Linked DNA regions of Homo sapiens: regions 2, 3 and 4 are each linked to region 1. Evidence: promoter capture Hi-C in 16 types of primary human blood cells and fetal thymus (Javierre and others, 2016). All regions are on one chromosome and are shown on one strand. The core of a region is centred on a gene start or on the middle of the fragment in contact, and the rest is flanking DNA. Distances in the headings are between cores, read along the strand shown.

Region 1 (2,664 bases), core at 106-2,605:
GCCAAACCTCCCACCTCTCCTCTCCCCCCACCCACCCCCTTTAAAAAACCCCTTTCCTCCCCGGCCCCTGCACTCTTTGTGAATGAGGGCAGGGAACACGGCCCTTCCCCCGCCCAGGAGCCACGCCAGACCGCCGCACTCAGAGGACTGTTTGTTAATAGTCCAATTAGATAATTGCCATCTTTCACTCCTTTTGCTCCGCATTTCCCATAAAGGAATGAATGGGGAGAGCGGCGTGGAGAGGGCTTCTGCCCCGGCAAGGTGACGAGAAGGGCTGGAGCATGCTCCTTGCACAAGGCCATGCGCTTGAATTGAATCATTGTAGCCTAATCAATGCTCTTATTGGATTACTGGCTGTTGCTTTTCTCAAAGATATTGTAGCAGAGACAATGAAATAGCTAGGGGAAAACTTTTTTTTTTTTTTTTTGAAGCAGATCTCACAGTTGAGATTTCTCGGCCGTCTCTCCCTCTCCCCCTCTCTCTCCTGCTGGACTCTGAGTACAAAGCTGCCCTTTGAATGGGCTGCCTCAGGGCTGCTGGAGGTGCAGGCATGAAAAAATCCAACTGGAACTAAATGAAGAGAGGTGGCAGTTTAAGATGGCTGTCTGCGTCGAGGTGTGTTAAGAAGGAGTTGTTTAGGGGAAAATCTTGGCTTTTTTAGAGTGCAAGGGAGATACTTTTTGGGAAAACTTTCTCCCCCCGCTCTGTCCCCCATCCCCCACTCCCAGACAACTGCTTTCTTCTGCCGCAGGGTGCGCAGGGTTTTTTTTTTCTCCCCCCACACCCCCCCGCCGCCCAACCCTCATTCAGCTCTATCTGGCGAGTGTGGAGAAAACCCCTCTAGCCAGTATGTGAGCAGGAGGGTCAAAGGCAAAAGGAAAGTTAATAATGCCTGCTAATGGTACTAACAATTCAGGATGAATCTTGTCAAAAGTTTTTCTGGAAGTGTGGGTCTTTGATTGTGTGTTTCCTGAAAGCAAGACCAATCATTTCCGTTTATTCACTGGCTAAACCCCTACTTGATTGGGGACAAGGACAGAAACCATCCATTACGATCTGATATATTATCCAAACAATTTAGTGTATTCATGAGGTAACCGAAACGTGGGGGCTGCGAAATTACCCGTAATCAATTGCAACAGCGAGTGTGCGTCCCCCCGGGTGTCGGACAACTACAACTCGCCGTCTCAGAAACAGGCGGGAGCCGCAGCATTTCGGAGTTGCGCTGTTCGCTACCTGATCGCCAGGCTGGGGACACTGGACGTGCTCAGAGGACGCGGGTGCTGACGAGGCGGCCTCGCCGCAGCTCCACCAGGATCCTGGACCAGACTGGCCGCCTCTCGGCGAGCGCGCCACTCTCCCGTCGCCGCTGACCCGCGCGCGGCCGCCGAAGCCTCCCCGCGGGGACATTCATTCTTGCCCCTTGCCTGTCGCCGGGCCGGGCGTACGGGCCGCGTTGTCGGGGGTTTTGTCCCCTTTTTCCTCTTTTTTTTTTCCTTCTCCGCCCCCCCCCCTTTTTTTTTTTTTTGCTTTTTTTTTCCTTTCTGTTTTTGTTGTTGTTCTTGCCTATGTTCGGGAAACCAGACAAAATGGACGTTCGATGCCACTCGGACGCCGAGGCTGCCCGGGTCTCGAAGAACGCGCACAAGGAGAGTCGGGAGAGCAAGGGCGCGGAGGGGAACCTCCCAGCCGCCTTCCTCAAGGAGCCGCAGGGCGCCTTCTCAGCGTCGGGCGCTGCTGAGGATTGTAACAAAAGTAAATCCAATTCCGCAGCGGACCCGGATTACTGCCGCCGGATCCTGGTCCGAGGTAGGGATGGGCAGGGCTGCCAGGCGCGTTCTTTGGGGTCGACTCCGGGGCCGGAGCTGCGCGCTGCCGCCGACACAGGCCGGTGGGAAGGAGTGCCGGCTGGGACTTGGGAGAAAGTTGTTGGCCCTCCCCGCCCCGAGTCCGGCTGGGGACAAGCGCCTGGGACTCTCCGGTGCGCTCTCCAGGGGCCTCGGCCCTCCACGCCCGGAGGGGCCCCGCTGACCGGGCTGCGGGGGGAGATGAGGGGCTGCGCGGGTGCGGCCGGGCATCGGGCTGCGGCCTCCGACCCGGGAAAGGAGCAGAAAACTCCGGGAGGAGGTGTGCGCGCTCCAAGGGCCGGACGACCTGCCGGGAGCCGGCCAGGGGACTCCCGCGCTCTGGAGGGCTGAGCGCACCCAAGGGGGAACGCGAGCCCCGGAGAACAGCTGCCGATCGCGGGCTACGGCCCTGCCAGTTAGTGCACTGGGCCGAGGACCCCACGGCCGCGATCGGTGCCCGACCGCTGCCGCCGGGAGAGGCAGCTGGGCTTGGTTACGGAGCCGCGGTTGCCGCTTTGGTGCTCTGCTCTGCCGCTCTCGGATGGCGCGGCGTGCACTTAGCCCCGGCGGCGGAGGCTGCGAGGCCGGGCCCCGGCCCGGCGCCGCCCCAGCCAGCAGCAGATCTCCGGGCCCGGCCGGCCCCGACTCAGTCCCTCCTCCTTCCGCCGCGCGGACTCCGGAGGGAAGGAGACTCGAGGGTGGGGGTGGGGACGTCTGGATCACGGTCTGGTCGGCAAGCCCAGAGCTGGGGCCCGCAGGACCCGGGCGGGGCGACAAGGGTACCCTCAGGCTACAGGGGACCCGGAAGGCTCAGCCG
Region 2 (2,664 bases), core at 115-2,614, 250 kb after region 1:
CAAAGACTACTATATGCATGTTGATTAGACTTAGAACATTTTGGGTTTTATGTTAGTCTGAATCCAGAATATCAGAGACAACTATTTTCTCTCTCTGCTTTTTACTTTTTTTGTCTAACTCTTCATCTCATAGGCCTCCCAGTAGCATTGGATGCAGGAAAAAATACATTGACGGTGAAAAACAAGCCGAACCAGTTGTAGTTTTAGATCCTGTTTCTACACATGAACCCCAAACCAAAGACCAGGTTGCTGAAAAAGATCCAACTCAACACAAGGAGGATGAAGGCGAAATTCAACCAGAAAACAAAGAAGACAGCATTGAAAACGTGAGAGAGACAGACAGCTCCAACTGCTGATCCATAAACCAGAAGCCTGACATGTTTGGAAGTCCTTTTCAATAAGCACATGATTAGTGTTGTTATATTGGCAAGGGCTGTAGACATTCTGCTCTGGTCACTGTATTCAGAATACAGGTTCTTTTCTGGTGTCACTTTTGTAAGTAGCAACTATAAACATAAGTAAGCTGTTTAGCAAAACACACATTCCTAGTAGGTTTTGGTTTTTTGATCTTTATAAAGATGAGGTTTTTTTCCTAGTTACTGTATTAAGTATGACTTCTTTTAGAAGGTTACAAAAAAATTCAGATGTTGATACCTTTTTAGGAAATGTGCATACCACTCATCAAATGGAATGCTGAAAGTTTGAGGTGCTTGTATATAATCGGATAAACAAAACTGATCAACCCAATGTGATTTTAAAAGCCCCCAAAGAAGCTTCTGTTTTGGGTCTGATCCTCTTGATGGAGAAACTGCAGCAGCATGGAAATTGTTGGGTACTGTGGCATACAAGTTATTTTCTACAGTAGACTGAGATAAACTGAAAACTCAGGAGCTGGCATCAAACTCGTAGTCCCATAGTCAGTGTTAATTACACACATTGTTAACTATTGGATGAAAAATACATGCTATTGATTGTGTCCAAAGCCTCCCGAGGACCTCCGTGGGGATGCTCTGGTAGCCTGAATACAGAACTGAGGTGAAAGTCCAAACCTTGAATTTTACAGTAGTAAGTTGGTAAACCATGTGCTCTGTGCTATGAGTTAATTATGTTTTCCCAAATACTAATGTGGCACAAGTACCATATTTTATCAGAGTTCTTATGTACAGTATGGTGAAGATAAGTGACAAGCACACATTTTTCTTGCTTCACTGCTGTTCTATATTACACAGGTTTGTTGTTGTTTTTTTTAAAAAAGAAATTAAGCAGTAGTTAGTCTCTAAAAATACAATGTTTCAGGCTACCACAGTGAATAAATAGAAATGTAATCAGGGATTAAAAAAAAAACTTATGCAGCTTTTCAAAGTTGATTGTTTCAAAATTGGTGTTTATTTAAAATAAGTGGTAATGTACTTGAATGCACTTTTTATGACAATGATTCAGTAATGGTAATTTTACTATTAAAGAAAGTGAAAGGTTTAGTTTTGTTAGCATGGCTCAGCATGTAGCTGTCAGGTGTTTTTCACCTAAGGGCAAAAGAAAATGATAGTAATAATTGCAGTAGTTGTATTGTATTGTATTTTTGCACGTGTGGTAAGCATAGGCTTGAAGAGGTGGGTAGGCAGGTACATGTACTTCCTAAATTTGGAGATAATTATCTTTCTGTAAGTTCGTTATGCTTGACTGTTTCCATGTTCTCCCAATAATGATTTTATAGTTACTTATCACTTTACTCATGGAGAATTAAAACGTAATGTTTTTCAACTGTATCTTTCTTTAACTGGATAATACTGCTATATGATATGCTTACTACAGACTGCATTAATTCACGAAACGAATTCTGTTATGCTGTAATTTGAACTCTCCTCACCACAACTTATTAAAAAGGCACCAATAGTTTCCCATTAAGGGTCAGTTGTGGTTATTATTAACGTTTCTGGTTTAGTTCCCCAAGCTTGACATTCTTTAATAGAAAATTGTATATGATTTGACAACTTTAGTAATTTTTAATAGTCCCTAAGATGGTTTATTGAGTTTTCTTTCATGTTTCTTTGTGCTGTCTTCCTTCTTGCATCTGTGATCTGTCTGCCAGCATGCAACTCACACACATTTAGGAATATAAAAATATGTACACTGTCTTTCCATATTTCATCACACCATCACAGAATAATATGGTTATCAAAATACCCTCCTTTCTAGAGTAAGAAGTTGCCCTTTGGGTGAAATGTGTTAGCTGGACTAGGGAACAATTAGTAACAGGTATTTTGAAAGTATTCCTGCCTTTTTTAAGCTGCTTACTTTCTCTCACTGTGATTACAAAGCATTTTAAATTAATTTGACATGAAGGTATTTGATGGAAGATATTCACTCACCTTTTTCTGCCTACAGTTTTTCCCTTTTCACTTTGGTTTTGAGGGGGTTTTGCCCCTGGCTGGGGTGACACTGTCAACCAAAGCAAGGGATCCCAAATAGGAAGACATAGGAGAACCGTGCTTATATCTGCAAGGTATGTTCATAGCTATTGCACACACAAAACTTACATACGTCCTGCTTACACAATTTTAAGTTGGAAAAGACTGCATCTTTATGTTTTTGATTTCTCTAAAAGGTTATTTATGCTTCCTTCTGTTTGGGAAAGATAAATTAAGTCTTGTGCGCTATAGAGGA
Region 3 (2,664 bases), core at 87-2,586, 240 kb after region 1:
GTGGTTTTCTTCTGCCTAGAAAGGCTTTTGGGAAAGTAAATGTGAAGTCACAAGTAGAGAAAGGAAACATCAGAAGAGAGACAGCCTGAGAGTTTGCAGAGCTAAGATCTCAGGTTAATGGTTATCTGCCCCAGGGACAAAGGATGTTGTACCCTTTTCCTTAGGATTTTTCTTAGGCATTTAACTAATGTTCCCTTGTTTTACCTAGCCTTGTGTCCTACCAAACTGACATTTCAAAGAGCAGCAAGTGCCTCTTGGAGAACACTGGGTGGCTTAAACAGGATGCAATAATAATACTCTTAAACGGTGTACATTTTTTAAAATGTCTTTTTGTATATAAGAAAAATATAAGAGCTGTAGCTTAGCTCACTAATTGCCTTCCTTTTTGCAGAAAATGTGTTGGTGTATTCAGAAGCAGATCTTTCTTACAAGGACAGATTGTTTAAAGCTAACTAGTATTGTAGTCAACGCTTACCCAAGGGCAGAATAGAGCTGATCAGAAGCAAATCTTGAATTCAACTTCGTATTTATATTTTCAGGAACTCTAAAATTAATTGATCTTTCTGTTCTGCCCTTCTGTCGTAACTGCCACAGCTCCATGCAACATGAGGCTTGACATAGCTGGGAGGAAAAGGCCTTTTTTTTTTGTCTCTGAGATGAAGTCTCTCTTGTCGCCCAGGCTGGAGTGCAGTGGCGTGATCTCGGCTCACTGCAACCTCTGTCTCCTGAGTTCAAGCGATTCTCTTGCCTCAGCCTCCCATGTAGCTGGGATTACAGGCGCCCACCATCAAACCTGGCTGATTTCTAGTAGAGACAGGGTTTCACCATGTTGGCCAGGTTGGTCTCTAACTCCTGACCTCAGGCGATCCGCCTGCCTCGGCCTCTCAAAGTGCTGGGATTACAGGCATGAGCCACCACGTACAGCCGGAAAAGGCCTTTTAGATCAAAATATCCAATAATGTCCAAACGTGTCTGCCTAGAGAGTATAGGTGAATTAAATGGGGAAGATAGAAACTAATGCTTTGTGAACTGGGGCTTCCACTAGAACAGAGAGGTCCTGTGTAACCTGCATAGAGCAAGGCTCAGAGAGGTGTCCAACAGAATGGGTTCACAATTTTTTAGTCTCTCTTAGGTAGGTTTTTCAAATTAGACCTTCATTTTTAGAGTTGATATGTTACGCTATTATACTGAGTATATCAGGCACATTAAATCCAAATGGAAGAATAGCATTCCAGAGCTTAATACCAATGGTCAGGGATTAGCTAGCATTTTGGATTATACCCACTAGTGCTTTCCATTTTAAGATGATCTGACATTTGTTAGGGATAGACACCCAAGAGACACCCAAGTTTTGTGCTCTTCTTACTGGCACATTTCAAGGTTATCCTCTCACTTTATTTCTAGAAATAGTCATTTAATTTGCATATTTGTGACTTATCTTTGTTTTAAAAGCATTCCTTCTGAAGTTTCAAGAAGCACTTACTAGAATCATGCTTTGAGAAAAACTGACTAGGATAGAATCTTTCCACCTAAAATTAGGGACTGGCTTCAATGCCCAGAATTTTTAGATTGATATGCCAATAATTCCAGTAACAAGTTTTATTATGGTTTTTAAATCCTGTCCTAAAGAGCAGAAAAGTCCAAAAGGTAAATAGCCAAACTCTTTCCCACTTAATTTTTATGATTTTGTGTCTGTGTTTTAAGAGGAAACAAATCCACTTACTTCTCATTCACATTAAAATGAAAATGTTCATAAAAACTGTTTAATGCTCAAGAAGCCTTCATGAGCCTTTTAGAGCCTTTTGACATGGTTCCATTTGCTGTTTAAAATGCAGAACTGAGTTTTGGGAAGAATTAACTCTTGAGAGGCGAAATGGTTCGAGTAGGGCTGTCAGAAAGCCATACTCTATGAGAGGAAAAGACTTTCCACAATTCCAGTATTACGAAGGACCCTGGTCAGTGAGGGAATTGTGGCCTGGGATTTTGTGGTTTCTTAAAGGTCTGTACACAATTTCTCAGCGTGGTCCTGGTAGATTGAAATGTAGTAGTACCACGAAAGCAGAGCAGATTTCCAACAACATTTTCCAGCATGCTCTTGAAATTTTAACAAACTTGGCCTTTTCACTTCTTGAGGGATTTTCAGCTAATCTGTTTTTCAGTACCATATTAATAAGCATCATACAGAATTATTAAACTTGAGGTATGTGTTTGGTTTTAAGGTCCAACTGGGATATTAGCCACCTCAGAGTCCAAATCCATGCCAGTGTTGGGTTCTGTATCCAGTGTAACAAAAACAGCCTTGAACAAGAAAACTCTGGAGGCAGAATTCAACAGCCCGTCCCCCCCAACACCTGAGCCAGGTGAAGGGCCCCGTAAATTGGAAGGATGCACAAGTTCCAAGGTTACGTTTCAGTAAGTAACGATGCTCTTTACTAAGTGGTGTATAGAAGAATCTGTAATGACTAACTTGTGTGTTTCTTTGATTTGTTTCCTTTAGAGAGATTTTGATTGGCTCGCCGGTAAATTCTCTTCTTCTTTTCATTTGATGGGCCAGCTTTTTCATTCTAGGCTCCTAGCTAAGAGATCTCATTCAGATCCAAAGCAAGTACCATGTACAAAGAGAATTACTTCCCCTAAACTGGTTTGGTAATCAGGTTCTTCTAC
Region 4 (2,664 bases), core at 120-2,619, 200 kb after region 1:
ACTATCAGTTGTCTTCATAACTATATTAAAATTTTAAATTTCTTCAACATAATTAAATTTTTTGACCAGGCATGGTGGCTCACGTCTGTAATCCAAGCACTTTGGGAGGCCGAGGCGGGGGGATCAATTGAGGCCAGGAGTTCAAGACCAACCTGGCCAACATAGTGAAACCCCATCTCTACTAAAAATACACAGATTAGCCAGGCATGGTGGCAGGCACCTGTAGTCCCAGCTACTTGGGAGGCTGAGGCACGAGAATCACTTGAACCTGAGAGGCAGAGGTTGCAGTGAGCCGAGATTGTGCCACTGCACTCCAGCCTGGGTGCCAGAGCGAGACTCCATCTCAAAAAAAAAAAAAAATTACTGTAATCATAATGGTCACCCAAAACAATTCATTTTAATTAAATCACTGGTCTGAAGTTTAAGATACTGTGATGAAATATTGATTACTCTTTCTTAGAATGCTGAAGCTGCATCTCACCCTTCTCCAGCCAAGTGTACATGCACATACTCTTCCTCACTGCAGTCTCTATACCTCTCACTCTCACACAAATGGAAGAAGAATGTGGGTTTCATGTATATGCAATTGTTTATTTACCTGTTTGACTTTGTAATGTGTTTTAATTCTGCAGAAGAACCCTGTCGTAGTTTTGTAGGCTTTTCATAAATCCCTAGGCAAAGAAGGAAAGCTTCTGACCTTTTTTTCCCTTTCATAGGAAGACATACTGGGAAGAAAATGTTAGTGTTTTAGTATACTGTATTCATGACTTGACTTTGATGTGGAAGTCGATACTGATCAAGAGCTTAAGGATTGTATAAATCATTAAAGCTGTGGTCTTGCCACATGGAGGTTGATGGAAAATATTTTTGTCCTGAGTTTTATTTGCTGACTTTTTCTGTTACATGATGGGTGAAGTTGTTGAACAAACTAATATGAGGGCTTTAGCAAATCATTTTGCAGTTCAGAGCTTTCAGTTAAGTTATAATGTAAATTTTAAAATGCTGTTAAAAATCTGAAAAGGTGAAGCTCTATTATAAAATTGGTAGGCCAGATTTCAGAGTTTACAAAAACATTTCATACTTGGAATCACTCACTGGCCAAATTGGGTAGAGTGTTAAGGAAAAGAAATAACAGGTAAATAGAAATCAATATTATTTTCAATCATGTAAAGTTGTGAGGATTTGATGAATAACATATAAATTGCTTAATACAGTGCTCAATAAAATATACTGTCTCCCTTCTCCCCTTTACCCTTCTACTGTTAACTACTTTTATCACTAGGGAGAAACTAATTAGTTTAAAACAAAACATTAGATCTAGCAAATAGTAGAGGAACTTAGCCAGATGGTTAAGAGCTTGGGCATGTAAATCAGATATGGGTTTAAGTCCTGGTCTTGTCACTTACGTGTGTTCTTGGGAAAGTTGCTTAACTTCTTTGAGCCTCAGTTACCTTATTAGTAAAATTAGATGATAGTAGTGTCTACTTGATAGTGTTGTTTTAAGGATTATATGATATAATGAATGTAAAATGATTCCCACCATATCTATCACATAGTGTTTAGTAAATGTTACCTATTCATAGTAGAAGCACTTTAATAGGATTGATGTAAGGATTAAAATAATCCATATAAAATATTTAGTGGAGTACACAAGGTAAATTCTTGAGAAATATTAGCTACTACTATTAATATTAATGTATCTTAAAGCAATAATAAAATATTAAAAACTGAAGAGTAAGACCAGCTTATTGTATAAATATCTTGTTGGGGCAGGAGTAAAGGTATTAAAGATTATATAAAAGGAATGAAATCATAGCAATCACTACTTCTAAAACTTATAGAAGTCAGAATTTGCCTTTAATGATTTAATAAAAATTCCATGTACTTTTCTTTTGCTGAAGTTACAGTTGAGGAGGTATGTGAGATTGATTGATATATACATTCTTGTAACAAACTTTTGCAGATGTTCATTGAGCAAAACAAGCTAAAGAGACAAAGCCACCTTCTGCTGCAGAGCTCCATCCCTGATCAGCAGCTTTTGAAAGCTTTAGACGAAAATGCAAAACTCACCCAGCAACTTGAAGAAGAGAGAATTCAGCATCAACAAAAGGTAACCCATTTTCTTCTGGAATCTTAGGTACACACACACATACATGCATACACACATATATTTAAGATGAAGGGAGCCAGTGCAGTCAGTCCAGTCATTTACTGTTTCATATTTTGCCTTAGTTACTAAGTGCTTTCAACCACCTTTTAGAAAAAAATAACTAAATGAACTTAATGTTGTGAAACTGAAATTTGTAATACGCTATTATAGACTTTATAATAATCTTTAAACTGTCCAAAGGGTCGGAAGAAGCAAGGGAAAGAGGTATAACTTAAAAACAGCTTGGATAAGGCAAAGTCTGGAAATTCAATTTTTGGAAATGTTATATTTTTTGGAGACTGCACACACTAAGAGGCTGTATTCAACTCAGAGCACTTGTTGGAGGGCATAGGTTTTATTCAAAGAAAATGACAGTCCGTATTAGTAGTAATTGTTTGCTTAGAGAAAATTTTTGATTTTGTAAACTTGCACAAATGTGTATGTTTAAAGACTTCCTAAGTGATTATTTCAATTTGATGAGTGGAGCTATTCCAGCTGACACAGCCTACCTCTGT

The links. Contacts are between HindIII fragments. The CHiCAGO score rates a contact against its expected background, and 5 or more counts as called.
Region 2: a fragment that was not itself captured here is called in contact with the fragment with the promoter of VAX1 in region 1 in 1 of 17 cell types (M1 macrophages); the score reaches 6.4 in M1 macrophages.
Region 3: a fragment that was not itself captured here is called in contact with the fragment with the promoter of VAX1 in region 1 in 1 of 17 cell types (M2 macrophages); the score reaches 5.3 in M2 macrophages.
Region 4: a contact is called between a fragment that was not itself captured here and the fragment with the promoter of VAX1 in region 1, in 1 of 17 cell types (M1 macrophages). The highest score is 5.2, in M1 macrophages.

What each region holds. Positions count from the first base shown.
Region 1 is chr10:117,136,961-117,139,624 of GRCh38, reverse strand. VAX1 (ventral anterior homeobox 1) reads left to right here and starts at 1,355. Exons shown (of 3, transcript NM_001112704.2): 1 at 1,355-1,809. The coding sequence starts at 1,569. The HindIII fragment of the contact is 11,137 bases long and covers 1-2,664 here.
Region 2 is chr10:116,884,036-116,886,699 of GRCh38, reverse strand. It overlaps SHTN1 (shootin 1), which reads left to right. Exons shown (of 17, transcript NM_001127211.3): 17 at 134-2,664. The coding sequence ends at 356. It also overlaps a transcript of ENO4 not described here. Among named protein-coding and RNA genes, the nearest start is that of ENO4, 36 kb to the right of the region's middle. The HindIII fragment of the contact is 1,178 bases long and covers 776-1,953 here.
Region 3 is chr10:116,901,513-116,904,176 of GRCh38, reverse strand. It overlaps SHTN1 (shootin 1), which reads left to right. Exons shown (of 17, transcript NM_001127211.3): 16 at 2,220-2,412. It also overlaps a transcript of ENO4 not described here. Among named protein-coding and RNA genes, the nearest start is that of ENO4, 53 kb to the right of the region's middle. The HindIII fragment of the contact is 5,794 bases long and covers 1-2,664 here.
Region 4 is chr10:116,939,912-116,942,575 of GRCh38, reverse strand. SHTN1 (shootin 1) reads left to right here. Exons shown (of 17, transcript NM_001127211.3): 9 at 1,964-2,110. Among named protein-coding and RNA genes, the nearest start is that of SHTN1, 64 kb to the left of the region's middle. The HindIII fragment of the contact is 1,356 bases long and covers 692-2,047 here.